2 separate regions of the Homo sapiens genome follow, and region 1 is linked to region 2. Evidence: promoter capture Hi-C in 16 types of primary human blood cells and fetal thymus (Javierre and others, 2016). All regions are on one chromosome and are shown on one strand. The core of a region is centred on a gene start or on the middle of the fragment in contact, and the rest is flanking DNA. Distances in the headings are between cores, read along the strand shown.

Region 1 (6,423 bases), core at 158-2,657, 750 kb before region 2:
TTCACTAACCTGGGCAGTATATGATGATATTCATTAACTGCCTATCTAGGCATGAAAATGGTTACATATCCACTCAGTGCTTAATATATGGCAGGCATTGTTCTGAGATCCATCCTGCATTTTCTCATCGAGTTCTCGTCATGAGCCCATAATTTATTCCCCTTTTACAGATGAGGAAACAGGCTGAAAGAGGCAGGACAATCACCCACAACCCATCAGGGCATGTGCTCTCAGCTGCAGGCCCAGGGGTAGTAGTGGACTCCCACTGGTCTGCCACACTCTGTTGTGAGTCTCTGTTGTGAAAGCTATCTATGTGGCAAAGCCAACCAGATCATGAGTCCAAAACCCAGGACTCTGACTTGAAGTTCTACTTGCTGAGACAATCAACCACAAAAGGATGGATCACACGGAAAGGAAGAAATAGATGGGCTGGAGCCTGTATAGATAAGAAGTATGTCCAGAAAATAAATTTCCAAAAAATCATCAAGTCTACAAAATTCTATTCTGCCCTTGAATTTTATAATGGTTCTAGATGCCACCCTAGCCATTTCTGTTCTCATTTCTAATATTAAATCAGCAGCCTAAGAGACAGGAGGTGCTACAAAAGGGAGAGGAAGGAGGGAGGGAAGAAGAGAAGGAAGAGGGGAGGAATCCATTTTATCCATTATTTTATCAACCATCTTATTTTTGAAAGTGTCATGCTGGTATGTATTTTATAGACACACATATACTGATCTTAAGAAGATTACAGTTTAGCTGAAAAGCTAAATTAGGCACTCATAAAGCAATTAAATAACATTATAAGATTAAGTAACAGTGCAAGATGTGTCAAAGTGCTAAAATAAGCTGTATGAAAACTGAAACCAGCCAGGCACGGTGGCTCATGCCTGTAATCCCAGCACTTTGGGAGGCTGAAGCAGGTGGATCACTGGAGGTCACGAGTTTGAGACCAGCCTGACCAACAGGGTGAAACCTCGTCTCTATTAAAAATACAAAAATTAGCCGGGCGTGGTGACACATGCCTGTAATCCCAGCTACTGGGGAGGCTGAGGCAGGAGAATTGCTTGAACCCGGGAGGAGGAGGTTGCAGTGAGCCGAGATTGTGCCACTGCACTCCAGCCTGGGCGAAGAAGCGAGACTCTGTCTCAAAAAAAAAAAAAAAAAAAAAAAAAAAAAGGAAAGAAAGAAAGAAAAAGAAAACTGAAACCATCATCATCCACTTTTTCCAATTACTACACATTTGAGATAGCTGGTTCTGTAAATCAGACGAGACAGTGCAATTTTGGCCTATCAGAAAGTGTTTACCATAGATGAAGACAATAAATACTATTGCTGGATGGTCCTGGGAAGCTGAGGGTATTGGAACCCTTCCATAACTGCCATGGCCAAGGGATGAGGATGCTTCCATTGCTTTTCCTGTTCACGTCTCTCTCTTCAGTTCACCCCCTCCCAAATGAGAAGCTGCATCGGATCTGCTTGCTCAGCATTTTGCATTTACTAGGTGACTCCTCCATGGATGAGGTCACTCCTTTGAAGAACAATACATGGTTATCCTTCTGTCTCAGTTGCACCTGCGATTAGGTGAGCAAGTCAAGCAGTTATCGTGGAGGGGCAGCTGATCTGAATAGTTCACTTTCCTCGTCCTAAATCAGCCTTCAATATTTACCATAAATGCAAGGACCACCCTGAGAAAGTTGAGTTTGTTGGCGTGAATTTTTCTTAATGGAAAAAAGAAAGCGAGGGAGTATATGGCCAACTAACCCTCACCATGAAGGAAAAAATGACATCCCGGGGCAGCTGACAATAGGGCTCTCTAAACACTTGGTGCCAGTGTGGAGGTGTTCTGGCCTCAAGGCAGCTCCAGGGAGAGGGTCCCTGGGAAAGAATGAACCCCTTCCTCAGGGCAGAAGAGCCTGCTTCACTGCACAGAGTGGTCTCTCAGGAGCTAGAAAAGTTAATGAAGTTGCTGAGCTTGAAAACCAGAAAGTAGGCAAAAAGAAAAACAAGTTCAACCTTCCTCCAACACAGGAAATAATTTGAAACCACAATCAGAAACTTTTTGAGCATTATGAAAGTGTAGAGGCCAAGGGAAAACTCCTCCCCTTCACCTTCTGCAGGTTTCCTGAAAGCTACACCCCCTCCCGAATGAGAAGCCACATCTAACAAAAGGAAGGTTAACAGGAGAAGAGGCATATACACATTTATAAATGTGTACGGAGGCAGGCGGATCACACAGTGATTACTCCACCACGCAATGAGGTACAGATGGTTAATGGTTATATACCCTTCTGAGGAGAAAGGGAGATGGGGAAGTGAGGCTTATTTTAGGGGGTTAGTAAACCATTTTTAGGAGAATGCCATGGACTCGAGGAACATACAATGGCCTGGGACAATGTCTCGTGGGCCCGCAGAACAGACAATGGTTTGTGACAAGTCTATAAAAGTGTGTTGATGGACTTGGAATCTTTCTTTCTGAGACATGTGTTCAGTTAATGAAAACTCAGGAAAGTGACCAGAAGTAATTGTTTTCTTCTTCAGCAGGTCTGGACTTTAGGCAGATAAGGGAACTTCAGAGAACAATTTTATCCTGTGCTTTGGGGCAGACGGAGAAGTGGGGAAAGGGGGATCCGAGAGGTCTCAAGGCTCCTTCCTCGGTTCAGCATGTCAAAGCACCATAGTTCGGGGCATCAGCTTCTGAACCCCAGCAAAGGGAATAAGCATTTTGATGGCTTCTAAATCACCAAAACACAGGAGGAAGAAGTGGGTTAGCTGCTCTGGGGTATGGAACTATTAGATTCTGACACACTTACAGCCTTATCTCTGCCTACTACATATGAAGCTTTCTACTGACTATTCTAGAAGGTAACATACTTTCAGAAACACCTTTGCACTTTCAAAACTATCATGGCTTTACCAAAACCACTTAACTCAAAAGACTTTTCACTTTCAAAGGTCCTTCAACCAAAGTTAGAAGCATATTAAGTGAAATCAAGACCAGTCTGAAGGGCAATCAAAACAGGATCCCCATAGAAAACTGTGCATTGAGCATGACTACAGCCCAATAAACAACTAAACAACCTAAAGGGGCAAATTCGACAGGAAATACACCGAAATATTAAAGTAGATGTCCTTGGGTAATACAAATTTGAGTAAGGTTGGTTCTATAGCCATACAATTTTTAAAGATTTATTTTTATTAAAAACACAAAACTTAATTAAATAAATAAATATTAAAGTCCAAGTTGTTTGAAATATTTCCCTTCATATCTTGAAAGCCTTTCAATCTCACTCAGGAAAACGTTTGAACTTGGAACATTTGAACTTGGAAGCGACCTTAAAGATTGTCCGATAAAACTACTTCATTCTACAGCTGAGGAAACAGAGTGAACTTCCAAACACATGGCCAGTCAGGCGCTGACCTGGAACTCTAATCAGCAATTCCTACCTCTGACTTAATGCCCTCTCTATCACAGACAGAGCCCACCTCACCAAGGAATACTCCCCTTCAATCTTCCAGATAGAAAGGAAAAAAAGTACTGCAAAATATGTCTCTCCACTCTTCAGTATGTACCCAAAAGAAATAAAATATATGTCTACTCAAAAATGTCTACACGAATGTTCACAGCAGCACTATTCATAGAAGTCAAATAGCAGAAACTACCCAAAAGTCCATCAGCTGAGGAATGGATAAACAAAATGTGGTATATCCATACAATGGGATTTTTTTTCTCCATGAAAAGGAGTGAAATACAAATATGCTACAATATGAATAAATCTTAAAAACACTGACTGATATGGTTTGGCTGTGCCCCCCACCCAAATCGTATCTTGAATTGCAGTTCCCATAATCCCCATGTGTTGTGGGTAGAACCTGGTGGGAGGTAATGGAATCATGGGAGCCATTACCCTCAAGCTGTCCTCGTGATAGTGAGTGCGTTCTCACGAGATCCGACGGTTTTATAAGGGGCTTTTCCCCACCTTCGCTCGCATTTCTTCTTCCTGCCAGCATGAAGAAGGACATGTTTGCTTCCCCTTCCGCCATGATTGTCGGTTTCCTGAGGCCTCCCCAGCCATGGTGAACTGTGAGTCAACTAAACCTCTTTCCCTTCTAAATTGCCCAGTCTCAGGTATGTCTTTATTAGCAGCGTGGGAATAGAATAATACACTAATGTTAAATGAAACCAGACACAAAGGACGGTATAATGTATGATTCCACTTACATGAAATGTCCAGAATAGGCAAATCTATACAGAACAAGTACGTTAGGGGTTGCCTAGGACTGGGGGTAGGTTTGGAAAATTAGGAGATGATGGCTAAGGGCTGAGGGGTTTCTTTTTTGAGGTAATGAAAATGTTTGGAAATTCAGTATGGTGACAGGTGCAGCTGAAAACAAATGCTAATATCAACGTGTACTGCACTCTGTTCCAAGCAAAGAACAATACTGATAACGTCACATTGAGGAAAGAACAATCAGCTACATAGATTATCATTTCAATCAGGGCATCTGTACCTTTTCCATATTTGCTGCACTGCATTTGGTTGTGTTACCTAAGTTTGGATTCTTGCCTCTATCTGCCAAAATGATAAATTCTCCAGAGCCATTTCAACTGATGGAATGACCACCTTAAATTGCTGTGTATACCACCTCAAGGAACAAGCCAGGCTTGGCCAAGACAGCCACGTGCTTTAAGGAAAAGTACATTATTAAGATGCAAGAAATGAATCTGCTTCAAATGGTTTGACCAAGTAATTATGTGTCTGGTGATTCTCTCACAAGCCAAATTGGTGGAATGTTGGAATGCTGCTATTGGACATGCAGCCTCATGGCCTGCCACACCCAACACAGCCTCTTTGCAAGCCCACTTCTCTCCCACGAAGTCCGTGAACTCATTGATAAGTAAATACCACTCTGTGATCAGTAGGTCAGCCACTGCCCAGATACAAAAAGGGCTGCAACAAATAACGTGCCACATCCTATTACATTTCAGATAAAGGAGGAGACCTATAATCCAAATACATCAAAAACAGTAGCTGAGCATAATTGTCTCCCCTGTTAAATGACAGGAAACTGCTCATTGTGCTTACCGTTTAGCAGCAAGTGGGAACTTTATTCTGACTACAGGCCTCAAATCCTTCCAGAGAACCTTACATGCTCTTAGGCTGTGATCAGAGGTGCCTGCCAACATTAACACAAACACAAGGCACAGAAGTCAACTCCCAGTTCACGTATCAACAACAGCTCTGGGGCAGGGACCCTGCTTTCAAGAGGAAATTTTTAAACTGGAGGGTGGGACCATGTGCAACTGACTAGCACCCTTGTTAGCACCACTGATGTAAAGTTAAATGATCCCCTCTCTAGTTAAAGTCTCCTAATTGTGATCTCCAGGACTCTCGCCAAAGATCTAACACAACTGTAAACATTTCAGAAGGCTCAGCTCACCATGGTTTGGGGCAAAACATACAGGCTTCTATTTCCTAAAATGCAGAAAAAGCAGACATTCTATTTCTTTAGGTCTGTAGTTCAGCCTCAGCACTGGCCCTGTGTTACACAGATTTCTATTTTGATACCTGCAAGTAAACATTTTATTAATATTTTTATGAATAAACCTTAAAATCCAAGCCAACTTATTTTTCCATTATTTAAAAAATTGTCTCGGCCAGGCATCATGGCTCATGCCTGTAATCTCAGCATTTTAGGAGGCCAAGGCAGGAGGATCACTTGAGGCCAGGAGTTCAAGACCAGCCTGGCCAACATGGCAAAACTCCATCTCTACTAAAAATACAAAAATTAGCATGCCGGGCGCAGTGGCTCACGCCTGTAATCCCAGCACTTTGGGAGGCCAAGGCGGGCAGATCACGAGGTCAGTAGATCGAGACCATCCTGGCTAACCTGGTGAAACCCTGTCTCTACTAAAAATACAAAAAAATTAGGTGGGCGTGGTGGTGGGCACCTGTAGTCCCAGCTACTCAGGAGGCTGAGGCAGGACAATGGCGTGAACCCGGGAGGCGGAGCTTGCAGTGAGCCGAGATCGCGCCATTGCACTCCAGCCTGGGCGACAGAGTGAGACTCCGTCTCAAAAAAAAAAAAAAAAAAAAAAGCCAGGTGTGGTGGCATGCATCCATAATCCCGCTACTCGGGAGGCTGAGGCACAAGAATCACTTCAACCTGGTAGGTGGAGGTTGCAGTGAGCTGAGATCACCCACTGCACTCTAGCCTAGGCAACAGAGCGAGACTTTCTCTCTCTCTCAAAAAAAATAGTCTCTTTGTGATATTAAAAAATATTGAGACTTCATAGCTACCCTCTTCTGGCAAATAATTAATTACTTTGACCAAATTCATGTCAACTGAACAAAAGAGTTCAAGGAACCCTCACTGACAGCTTCCATGTGGTTTGAAGATATCCAAAAGGCATTTTTTCCCCAT
Region 2 (6,084 bases), core at 2,741-5,240:
ATGGGCAATTCCCAGAACTGAGGGTTCCTCCTCCTTTAGACCATATAGGGTAACTTCCTGATGTTTGTAAACTGTCCTGGTGCTGGTGGGAGTGTCTTTTAGCATGCTAATGAATTATAATTAGTGTATAATGAGCAGTGGGCACGACCAGAGCTCACTTTGGTCGCCATCTTGATTTTGATGGGTTTTGGCCGGCTCCTTTACTACATCCTATTTTACCAGCAAGGTCTTTGTGACCTGTATCTTGTGCTGACCCCCACCATCTCATCCTCGAAGAATGCCTTAACTTCCTGGGAATACAGCCCAGCAGGTCACAGCCTTATTTTACCCAGTCCCTATTCAAGATGGAGTCTCTCTGGTTCAAATGCCTCTGACACTATTAACCTGGTTTTGAAGATGAGGAAACTGAGGCTTGGAGGTCACCCAGCTACTTCTTGGTAGAGTTAGAATTTGCAACTTCCTGGCTTGAAAACTCAGGCTTTATCCTTTTCTGGTACCTTTCAATAGAGGCTACAAGTCCCCAGGTTATTTATTTATTTATCTATTGAGATAGAATTTTGCTCTTGTTGCCCAGGCTGGGGTGCAATGGCACCATCTAGGCTAACTGCAACCTCCGCCTCCTGGGTTCAAGTGATTCTCCTGCCTCAGCCTCCTGAGTAGCTGAAATTACAGGTGCCCACCACCCTGCCTGGCTAATTTTTGTATTTTTAGTAGAGACAGGGTTTCGCCATGTTGGCCAGGCTGGTCTTGAACTCCTAACCACAGGTGATCCACCCACCTTTGCCTCTGAAAATGCTGGGATGACAGGTGTGAGCCACCGTGCCTGGCCAAGTGCCCAGGTTATTAAGACTCTTTCTCCAGGTGGCAGACATCCACATTCTCAGAGTCCTCTCACATTGGCATGGAACTAGCAATGTAGGGGAGGGAAAAATGGCTTCCCTCTACCCTTCTAGGTTCTTTACTTGGATTGCAAATTAAATTGACATAACAGAGATTTTTTTTTTTTTTTTTGAGACGGTATCTTGCTCTGTCGCCCAGGCTGGAGTGCTGTGGCACAATCTCGGCTAACTGCAACTTCCGCCTCCTGGGTTCAAGCGATTCTCCTGCCTCAGCTTCTGAGTAACTGGGATTACAGGTGCGCACCACCTCGCCCGGCTACTTCTTTTGTATTTTTAGTAGAGATGGGGTTGCACCATGTTGGTCAGGCTGGTCTCAAACTCCTGACCTCGTGATCCGCCCACCTCGGCCTCCCAAAGTGCTGGGATTACAGGCATGAGCCACCACGCCTGGCCGACATAAGACAGATTAACAGAAGAAAAACCGTTTTAATTACCTGCATACGCAGCAGCACAGGAATCTCACAAAACATGAAGGGCCAGATGATTGAAGCTTATAGCATTCTGAGCTAGAAATAAATAAGGGCTTGGGGCTTCTGTGGGGACAGTGGGGAGGCACCACAGGTAGGATATAGGAGGGTTAGTGGAGGAAATGTATGGTAAATAATGTTGCCTTGTGGCTGCGCGCGGTGGCTCACACCTGTAATCCCAGCACTTTGGGAGGCCGAGGTGGGCGGATCACGAGGTCAGGAGTTCGAGACCAGCCTGACCAACATGGTGAAACCCCGTCTCTACTAAAAATACAAAAATTACCCGGGCGCGGTGGCGCGCGCCTGTAATCCCGGCTACTTCAGAGGCTGAGGCCGGAGAATCGCTTGAACCCGGGGGGCGGAGGTTGCAGTGAGCCGGGATCATGCCAATGCACTCCAGCCTGGGCGACTGAGCGAGACTCTGCCTCAAAAAAAAAAAAAAAAAAAAAAAAAAAAGTTGCCTTGTTATGTAAAGTCTCTCATGTAATAAAAGTTCTCTGAGCAGCTGCCTTCCTGACACAGATACTTTTACTATGTGGACTTCCTTTATAGATGTAAATTTGCTTTACAAAAGGACAGCTTTTCAGAGCTACTCCCGTGTCTGCAGTTTCTCAGAATAACCAGCTTGAAATGTGCCAAACAAGTGTATTTTGGGATAGCATATTTTGGTATTCTACAGTCATAATTTGGGGTGCTGTGGCCTGAGCCTCAGCAGCAAAAAGAGGACATGATTCAGGGTTCGGAGCGCTGGATTCTATTACCAGCTCTGCCCCCTAACCCAGTGGTCTCTTGTGAAAGGTCCTCGAGTTCCGAGTCGAGTCAATTTCCCTAAAAGGCAAAGAGGCATCGGAGTTCCAGCTGGCTTAAACATTTGTAGATTTCGCGCCTTCCCTTTTCGCCCCTCCTTCCTCTCCACCCGTCTCCCCACCCCGAGCTACTAGGGGGCCTGCCCATTTCCCCAGGCCAGGAGTAGGGCTGAAGTGAAGTGACCGCGGTCGTAGCCAACAGCGAAGCTCATTAGAAAGTCCTGGTGAGAGCCTCAGCTTCTGATGAGTCACAGATCGCCACGGAGCAGGTTGCTGCGCTTGACTGATTGGGTTTACCCTATTTTTGTTTTGAGTTAGAGCCAACTGTCCTCATTCCTTTTCGTGGCTCTGAGTAGGGCCTGCTCCATTATATCTCTTTCTCTAAACGCCTGCATCTGAGATGCTGGAAAATCCTGCGCAGCTCATAACCCAAGGCCTGGTTTCCATTCACCTTTCCTCTTCTACTCCTAAGCTGCCCAAGACACTCCTTTGCCAGAGCTCTGTCTGGAAACGAGTCCCTCTAAGGTCAAGCCTTGCGTCATGTGCCAGGGGATCAGACGAGTGGATTCCAGGCCCAGTTTTACTTCCTCAACTTTGCTGTGAGGCTTTGGGCAAGTTATTTAACCTCTCTGGGCTTCAGTTGCCTCACCGCTAAAATGGGTACGGTAATGCTTATTTGAAAGAGCAAAGGGATTGGCGCAAAAATCGCACTAACAGAAATATCTTCATTCCGGCAGGGCGCGGTGGCTCACGCCTGTAATCCCAGCACTTTGGGAGGCCGAGGCGGGCGGATCACCTGAGGTCAGGAGTTCGAGACCAGCCTGGCCAAGATGGTGAAACCCCGTCTCTACTAAAAATACAAAAAATTAGCCGGGCGTGGTGGCAGGCGCCTGTAATCCCAGCTACTCGGGAGGCAGAGGTTGCAGTGAGCCGAGATCGCGTCACTGCACTCCAGCCTGGGCGACAGAGTGAAGCTCCGTCTCAGAGAAAAAAAAGAAAAAAAAAAAAGAAATACCTTCATTCCTCTTGGGGAGGTGGCTGTGAGGACAGCAGATCTGAGTGGGAGAAAACCTAGAGACGGCCTCCCTGCCTTCTGTATGGAACAAGCAATTATTGGGCACCCTCTTTTTAGTGAGGAAGCAGGGACGGAAAATGAGTCCTTGGGCCAGCGCAGGAGGAGAGGCTGGAAAACATATCAATATTCAGGAAGGCACGGAAAGGGCTCTCAATGGATCTCTCACCAAGTGCCATCAGGGCAGAACAGTCAAGGGCCCAGGGATTCGAGGAAGCTTGGGAGGCGCGGAGAGCCCAAAAGTTGAAAGTTTTCTTGGCAGATGAGGGAAGGAAAGGGATTTCAGGAACAAGGATCTCGTGGGTGGGCTGTCCCAGTCGGCGCGCGGCAGAGCGCAGACCAGCACCCGGCGGTCTGGTCTGTGCAGGAAAGGCAGGAACCGCTTACTAAGGCTCCAACCTTTTAGAGGCAGCAACAAGCTCTTTCTCTGGATCCGAAGGCGGAGAGGCGCTGCGCTCTCATTTGGCGAGGGCCCGAGCGCGGCCAGACCGCGCACCAGACCCGGAGCGTGGGGCCCAAAGGCTGGCGGCCGACTCCGGAGCTCGGCGCCCCAACCGGGAAGTGATCGCAGCAGCCCACCCGCCTGACGCCAGCGGAAGTGCGAGCCCGGGTCGAGCCTGCTCCGCCGCCGGGCGCCCGGGAAGGGGCGGGCACGGGGCGGGGCTGGGGGCGGGCGAGGCGGGGCCGGCGGCGGGGCGGGGCTTGGCCGCAGTTGTTTTTACCCAGGCCTCGGCGCCTAGGCGCTTCGCCGAGGCTGATCTTCGTTCAAGTGTGAGCTGCGGCTGAGCCCAGCGCTCGAGGCGCGAGGCAGCCAGGAGGGCCCGTGCGGCGCGGGGAGCCAGCGAGCGCGCCTTCGGCATTGGCCGCCGCGATGTCAGCTCAGTGCTGTGCGGGCCAGGTGAGCGAGGCCGGGCGCAGCGCGGGGGTTGTCAGATCGGAGAACCGGGCCAGGAGTCCAGGCGTGGAGGACCTGCCTGGGTGCGCTCCCAGCTCCGCGGCCGAACGTAGGGCCCGGGTGGGTCGCTCGGGCTGGCCCCGCGGCGCTCAGCCGTCCGGGAAATCCTGTGCCCTGGGCGGGCGGGAAGGGGCAGGGGGAAGCCCGAGAGGCTACCCCGGGGTCTTCCCGTCCGGCCTCCGGGACTCCGCGTGGAGCGGGGCGTGCCGGGCTCGGGCGGAGGATCCCGACTGCTCCAGGGGCGTGTCGCCTCTTGCGCCGAGCACTGGTGAATAGCGCTGAGCTCCGTAGCCCTCTCCACTCTGCTTGTCGGATGAATCCAGGAAGAAAAGTGGGTTTAGGCACCGTCTCCTTTGCTATGCCCTGAATAAAACTCGGGTCAAACAACCCAGGCAGGTTGCGCTTGGCATCTCGTAGTCGAGCGTGGGCTCTGTACCTTTGAGAATGTCTCGAAGCCTGACTTCCAAACTACCGGGCGCAGGTCTGGGCGAAGGGAAAACTCAGCCCTGCTTCCTGAATTTCCCGACCCAACCCTGGCTCGGTACTAGCACGACTGCCTGGGTAGGGCTGGAACCTTCCTGCCTCTCTTTGCAAATAAACTTGTTCGAACCTGTTTTTTAACTCTCGCCTATTTAAACCTATGATGTCTTAAAACATTATGTCTCCTACCAGTTACTGCATCAGTGTAGAATTAGTACGTCTTAGCCCTGTAATGCTGGTTTCACTCCTTCCTGCAGAGTTAGAAAAAACGAAGTAGGTGAGTCTCTTGGATGTGGAGCTCTTTTCTCCCTTTACATGTGGATTATCAGCGTTTCGGTACAGAGTTTTAATGGAGTGTTTTCACGAACGAATCAGACTCTAGGGAGCATCCTGGTTCGGGGTGTTCTTGCTGACACTCAGCCTTTCCACAATCGAGGCCAGCTGTAAGTGATGGAGTGGTTAAACTGTGGGTTTCTGTAACCGGCGATTATACTGGCAGATAATCTGTCCTGTTTAGAGTGGCCACGTGGAGCTGTCTTGGTTTTTGAGGTCTAATACTGTGCTTGGCATACATTAAAGCTGGCCTTTTCAGAGTTGAGGAAATTGAGGCTTTTGACGACTGAGACGAAATGATTTTTTTTCCCTGTGTCAGGCAGAGAGAGAAAGAGAATGAGAATGGTCACCACCTTACCAGGTATTTGAGAACAAGGTGGACCAGGAAAGACTGTTTTCAGAAAGCTCTGCAAATCTTTTATTCCCGTTTTGAAATACTTTTTCTCCAATATGATGCGACACTTTTTATTACGTAGTAATGATACAGCTCTTTAGGGGCATCTGTCCTGGTCCCTTGAAGTCCCCTTGAGGCTCTTTCTGCCATTCCCAAGTTCCTAATTTAGAGCTCTGTAATTACCAGTATTCAAATGGGTTTTGTAAAAGAATTATTTTGCTGTTGATGTTTTAGCAGGTTTCTAAAGTCTCCCCTCTTAGGACTTTGGAAAGAACCAAATCAAAGTTAACCCCTGCTTTCCCAGGCCTGCTGGAGGCATCACTGTGGTGGGCCTCAGTGCTGTGTGATGGTGATCACACTGTGATTTCCTGTGGATGGGGCGGTAGGAAGTTAAAAGAAAAGCAAACAGGCTGGGCGCAGTGGCTCATGCCTGTAATCCCAGCACTTTGGGAGGCAGAGGCGGGCGGATCACCTGAGATCAGGAGTTGGAGACCAGCCTGACCAACGTGGAGAAACCTCATCTCTACTAAAAACACAAAATTGCCGGGTGTGATGACGCATGCCTGTAATCCCAGCTACACAGCTAAGGCAGGAGAATCGCTTGAACCCAGAGGCAGAGGTTGTGGTGAGCTGAGATCACGCCATTGCACTCAAGCCTGGGCAATGAGCAAAAAGAGC

Evidence for each region. The method cuts DNA at HindIII sites, captures the fragments that hold promoters and counts their contacts. A CHiCAGO score of 5 or more calls a contact.
Region 1: a fragment that was not itself captured here is called in contact with the fragment with the promoter of SERINC5 in region 2 in 1 of 17 cell types (activated CD4 T cells); the score reaches 7.3 in activated CD4 T cells.

Annotation. Positions count from the first base shown.
Region 1 is chr5:81,002,893-81,009,315 of GRCh38, reverse strand. All of the region lies in intron 1 of RASGRF2 (Ras protein specific guanine nucleotide releasing factor 2), which reads right to left. Among named protein-coding and RNA genes, the nearest start is that of RASGRF2-AS1, 45 kb to the right of the region's middle. The HindIII fragment of the contact is 2,869 bases long and covers 1-2,841 here.
Region 2 is chr5:80,253,954-80,260,037 of GRCh38, reverse strand. It overlaps SERINC5 (serine incorporator 5), which reads left to right and starts at 3,990. Exons shown (of 12, transcript NM_001174072.3): 1 at 3,990-4,142. The coding sequence starts at 4,116. RefSeq lists enhancers at 1,025-1,956, 1,957-2,890, 2,891-3,824 and silencers at 3,678-4,117, 4,228-4,507. The HindIII fragment of the contact is 9,277 bases long and covers 3,464-6,084 here.